Linked DNA regions of Homo sapiens: region 1 is linked to region 2. Evidence: promoter capture Hi-C in human tissues and cell types (Jung and others, 2019). All regions are on one chromosome and are shown on one strand. The core of a region is centred on a gene start or on the middle of the fragment in contact, and the rest is flanking DNA. Distances in the headings are between cores, read along the strand shown.

Region 1 (2,700 bases), core at 170-2,669, 36 kb after region 2:
CCTCAGCCTCCCAAGTAGCTGGGCTTACAGGTGTGTGGCACCACGCCTGGCTAATTTTTGTATTTTTTAATAGAGAAGAGATTTCACCATGTTGTCCAGGCTGGTCTTGAACTCCTGACCTCAAGTGATCCACCTGCCTTGGCCTCTCAGAGTGCTGGGATTACAGGCGTAAGCCAGTGCACCCGGCCGCTTTTTTTGTAAATGGCTTTGTTGAGATATAATTCACATACCCTACCTCCATTTTTTTTTTTTTTTGAGACAGAGTTTGGCTCTTGTTGCCCAGGCTGGAGTGCAATGGCACAATCTCGGCTCACCACAACCTCCGCCTCCTGGGTTCAAGTGATTCTTATGCCTCAGCCTCCTGAGTAGCTGGGATTACCAGGCATGTGCCACCATGCCCGGCTAATTTTGTATTTTTAGTAGAGATGGGGTTTCTCCATGTTGGTCAGGCTGGTCTCGAACTCCCGACCTCAGGTGATCTTCCTGCCTTGGCCTCTCAAAGTGCTGGGATTACAGGTGTGAGTCACTGCACCTGGCCCTACCCTACTTCTTTAAGGTATACAATTTAATAGTTTTTAGTATGTTGACAAGGTTTTATAACCATCACTGCACACAGTGCAGTGAATATTTATATCACTCCGAAAAGAAACCCCATACCCATTAACAATTACTGTCTATTTTTCCTTTCCCCAGTCCCTAATCTACTTTTTTATTTTTCCCTTGAGATGGAGTCTGACTTTGTCACCCAGATTGGAGTGCAGTGGTACAGTCACAGCTCATCGCAGCCTCGACCACCTGGGCTCAAGCAATTCTCCCACTACAGCCTCCCAAGTAGCTGGAACCACTGGCACATGCCACCATGCCTGTGACCAGTTTTTAAATTATTTGTAGAGATGAAGTCTCACTTTGTTGCCCAGGCTGGACTCAAACTCCTGAGCTCAAGCGATCCTTGTGCCTTGGCCTCCCAAAGTGTTGGAATTACAGGTGTGAGCCACTGCACCTGGCCACGTAATCTACTTTCTGTCTATGGATTTGCCTTTGTGTTTTTTATTGGTGATTGGCCTTCAAGTATAATGCTGAAGTGCTGTCTCCTGTTTCCAAGAGCTAGAAAGCTATGCTGTACTTTAGAGGAAAATATATTAAATAAGCTTTGTTCAGGCTGTTTGACATGTTAATGAATCCTCCCGCCTTGGCCTCCCAAAGTGCTGGGATTACAGGCGTGAGCCACCGCGCCTGGCCTTACATATATTTTAAGTAAGGTGTTAACACTATATAATTCATCTGTGTAACCCAAAACTACTGTATCCCTAAGGCTATTGAAATTTAAAATAAGTAAATAAATAAGGTGTCTTTCATCAGAAACACATAAAAAAGAAGGTGTGTACTGATGATCTACTGACAAAAATGTGACTAGAGGCTCACAGGAACCTAACCGTGTGTTTTCCTCTAGGAGCAAAGGTTCAGGATTTGCTAGTTCAACGTTTGTAGCAATAAAAATAATCTATTATACCACATTTTGTTTATTCATTCATCAGTTGATGGATTTGTGACCTGTTTTCACTTTTTGGCTATTATAAATAAAGCCACTATAAACATTTGTTTACTGGTTTTTATGTGGACACGTTTTCATTTCTCTCACTGCGCCCAGCAATGAATACATTTATTTTATGGCAAAACTAAAAGTTTGTCAAACACCCAAATTCAGTATGATAAGTTAGCTTTTTATAGGATACTGACAGGTTATTGTGGGTACTCCAATCTTGTTCAGCAAGGCCAAATTTTCAAAAAAAAAAATGTAGATTTATTACAATAAGGGAAATATATATCTTAAGCTATATTTCCATGTGTTCTATGAAGACAACTCTGAGAGGAAGTTAGCAGTTTGTGTGGTTGGAAGCCTCAGAAAGTTCTCCTACTTCTATCTCTTACTCACCTGGCTTGCATTGCAATATTTAGGGTAAGAGTCACAAGCATACTCGGGTGCATTTGAATGATGGTCTAAGCAGATCTCTACACCTGTCGTTATCTGGGTTTGTGATCATTCCAGTGTTTCCTAAGTTTATAGGATGAATTGGCAGTAAGTGACTTTTGTTCCAGTCCTCAGCTGCATTATAAAGACAATACAAGACTATGCTGAAATAGCTATTTGGTAAAGTTTTGTAAACCCAGAAGCCTTTTTAAAAAGTATTGTTCTTCTTAATCTCTTAATTATAGTTTTTTAAAATCACATATCACTTAATTTTGTGTGTGTATTTTTGTTTGTTTGTTTTTTGAGATGGAGTCTCACTACATCACCCAGGCTGGAGTGCAGTGGTGTAGTCCCGGCTCACTGCAACCTCTGCCTCCCAGGTTCAAGTGATTCTCCTGCCTCAGCCTCCTGAGTAGCTGGGATTACAGGGCTGTGCCACCAGGCCCGACTGATTTTTTTTTTTTTTTTTTTTTTGAGATGAATTCTTGTTCTGTCGCCCGGGTTGGAGTGCAGTGGCGTGATCTTGGCCCACTGCAACCACTGCCTTCCGGGTTCAAGCAGTTCTCCTGCCTCAGCCTCCCAAGTAGCTGGTATCACAGATGCGTGCCACTACGTCCAACTGATTTTTGTATTTTTAGTAGAGACAGGGTTTCGCCATGTTGGCCAGGCTGGTCTCAAACTCCTGACCTCAGATGATCTGCATGTCTCAGGCTCCCAAAATGCTGGGATTA
Region 2 (2,928 bases), core at 128-2,627:
CCACCGCGCCCAGCTAATTTTTTTGTTTTGTTTTGTTTTGTTTTTTGAGAGGGAGTCTCGCTCTGTCACCCAGGTGGGAGTGCAGTGTCGTGATCTTGGCTCGGTGCAACCTCCGCCTCCGGGGTTCAAGCAATTCTCCTGTCTCAGCCTCCTGATTAGCTGGGATTACAGGCTTGTGAAACCAAGTCCAGCTAATTTTTGTATTTTTAGTACAGACGGGGTTTCACCACGTTGGTCAGGCTGGTCTCCAAATCCTGAGCTGTGATCTGCCAGCTTCGGCGTCCCAAAGTGCTGGGATTACAGGGGTGAGCCACAGCTCCTGGCCTTGTTTTGTTTTTTTGATACGGAGTTTTGCTCTTTTTGCTCAGGCTGGAGTGCAATGGCTCCGATCTCGGCTCACTGCAACCTCCCCCTCCCGGATTCAAGTGATTCTCCTGCCCCAGCCTCCCGAGTAGCTGGGACTAAAGGCACGCGCCACCGCACCAGGCTAATTTTTGTATTTTTATTTATTTATTTTTTTAGTAGAGATAGGGTTTCACCTTATAGGCCAGACTGGTCTTCAAACTCCTGACCTCGTGATCCTCCCGCCTCGGCCTCCCAAAGTGCTAGGATTACAGGCTTGAGCCACTGCGCCCGGCTCTAAGTTTTGTATTTTTAGTAGAGACAGCGTTTCGCCACATTGGCCAGACTAGCCTCGAAGTTCTGACCTCAGGTAATCCACCCTCCTCGGCCTCCCAAAGTGTTAGGATTATAGGCCTGAGCCACCGTGCCTGGTCTATTTTTTATTTTTATTTATTTATTTTTTTAATAGAGACGCTAGTCTCAAACTCCTGAGCTCAAGTGACTCTCCTTTGGCCTCCCAAAGTACTAGGATTACAGGCGTGGGCCACCACGCCCGGCCAACAGTTATTAAAATTACGATGATGAAATTTTAGGCATTTAGAATACTTCAGGCCAAAAACACTTTGAGCCAGGGGGCTCGCTCAAAGGCATGCGCAAAAGCCATCAGGCCTGTACCTGGAGAACTCAGGTGAGACGTTGCCACTCGTTGTAATCCCTCCCCCTAGCACTCGGCCCCCGAGCCTGGGCCACTGCCCTGGCTACACCGGGAAGTCTGGAGCTAGAAAGTGGGCCGTGCGCGTGACGGGCGCGCGTGACGCCGAGGGGGCAGGTCTGAGAAGCAGGCTGCGCCGGGATTCGGCGGTCGGTTCCCGCGGAAGGGGCGGGTCAGGTTAGGGGGCGGTGCTTAATGGGAGCTGGTCTTGGGGCCGGGCTTCCGCGTGCGTTGGCCTGGCGGCGAGAGCGCGCGGCGGGGGCGTGCCCGGCGGGCGGGGCGGGGCCAGCCGGGGGCGGGGCGGGGCGCGGCCTAACGGCGGCGGCGGCGGCGGCGACGGCGACAGCAGCGGTGGTGGTGTCTGGTTAGCTCGGCGGCTGCAGATCTCGCGGCGACGCCTGCGAGGGACCCGGGCCGCGGGTCGAGGCGGGCGGCGCCTGCGAGGGACCCGTGTCGCGGGTAGAGGCGGGCGGCGCGCGGCGGCGGCGCTCGGCGATGGTAGGCGTCCCTGGAGCGGCCGCCTTCCAGCGTAAGTGGGGCGTGAATGCGGGCGGCCGAGGGGGGCGTGTGAGGGCCTGCGGCTCCGCAGGCGCGGTGATTCCGAGTGCCCCGGGCGCGAGGCCGGGAGTGGAAACTGAGGCCCGAAGCGGGGCGGCGGATCCAAGGTCACGCAGCGGGGCGGGCCTTCCCGGGCTCCTGAGGCCACCCCGTCGCTTCCTGCGCCGCCCGAAGAGCTCGGGGCTCACGGTGTGAGGGAAATTGTGGGGCCCGCGGCCTCGGAACTTAGGCCGGGCCGGCGTCCATGGGACTTGCCGGCGGGCAAGAATCATTTTGTTGTCCCAGCGCTGGGGCCACGAAGTCCGGCTCCTGGGGAAATACTACACCCGCCCGATGTTGAGGGTTGGAGGAGATGAGAATGGCCCCTCGGAGGGCCTGTTTGAGCGCAGGCTCAGTAGTTGGCTACCTGGGTTCACATCCAGGCTTCCCCATTTAGGTAGTGACCTTGGCTCTCCCGGTGCCTCAGTTCCCCCATCTGCAAAATGGGGATGTGGAGCGGGTTCCCTCCCTCCCCCAGGGTTCTTGGGTTTTGTGAGGCCAGTAAAACGCTTGACACCGACCGTGGCACACACACAATTGTGAAAACTGTCATTATTGTAATCGTCCTTTATTAATCTGATCCAGTGTGCACCGCACTCGGAAAAGTCCGAAATTAGGCTCTAGCCGTGTTAAGATTTTGTTTTGTTGTCTGTTAGTCCTGCTCCATGATCTAATTGTTATTCTTACTTCCATTTAGCCATTCCAGTATTTATCTAGTGTTCCTCCTTGATGTGTGAGATCCTTGGGGGAGGGGTGGCTTCTCTGAATAAGAACAATAAAATTTTAATTGTTTTTCATTATTGTAATTATAATAGCCAACATTTTTTTGAGCACCAGACATTTTGCATTCTATTCACTTAATATTTATTAAATCATATAGTAAGTTTAAAAATACCATTCCAGGCCCTGGGAATACAATAAACAAGATAGACCGAACTGGGGTTTTGAGTTTAGTTAGGAGAGGGAGAGACATAGTAAATGAGGAAACAGATAAACATGTTTTGCATGTTTTTTTAATTGTTTAATCTTGATGACATCCTAAGTAAGACATTATTTGAGGATGCCCATTTTGCAGAGGATGAAACTGAGTAACAGAAGGTACTCTGAGTACTAGTCTCAGAGCTGATGTCCTTAAACACGTGAAAGGGAGGCTTTACGCTTCTTTTTTTTTGCACCCATTAAATGTTGGATTGAAGATAGAAAAAGTAGATACACCCAGCTTGCAGTTACTGCTTTTGATGGTTTGATCCATTCCTCATGAAATTTCCAACTAAAGA

What was found. The method cuts DNA at HindIII sites, captures the fragments that hold promoters and counts their contacts. A contact is called where the count stands out against the background at its distance.
Region 1: a fragment that was not itself captured here is called in contact with the fragment with the promoter of CBFA2T2 in region 2 in 1 of the 25 tissues and cell types used here (ovary).

The regions. Positions count from the first base shown.
Region 1 is chr20:33,524,948-33,527,647 of GRCh38, forward strand. The region is part of intron 1 of CBFA2T2 (CBFA2/RUNX1 partner transcriptional co-repressor 2); the gene reads left to right. Among named protein-coding and RNA genes, the nearest start is that of CBFA2T2, 36 kb to the left of the region's middle. The HindIII fragment of the contact is 6,967 bases long and covers 1-2,700 here.
Region 2 is chr20:33,488,719-33,491,646 of GRCh38, forward strand. CBFA2T2 (CBFA2/RUNX1 partner transcriptional co-repressor 2) reads left to right here and starts at 1,378. Exons shown (of 11, transcript NM_001032999.3): 1 at 1,378-1,583. The coding sequence starts at 1,550. RefSeq lists an enhancer at 545-1,093 and silencers at 1,188-1,407, 1,418-1,697. The HindIII fragment of the contact is 17,917 bases long and covers 1-2,928 here.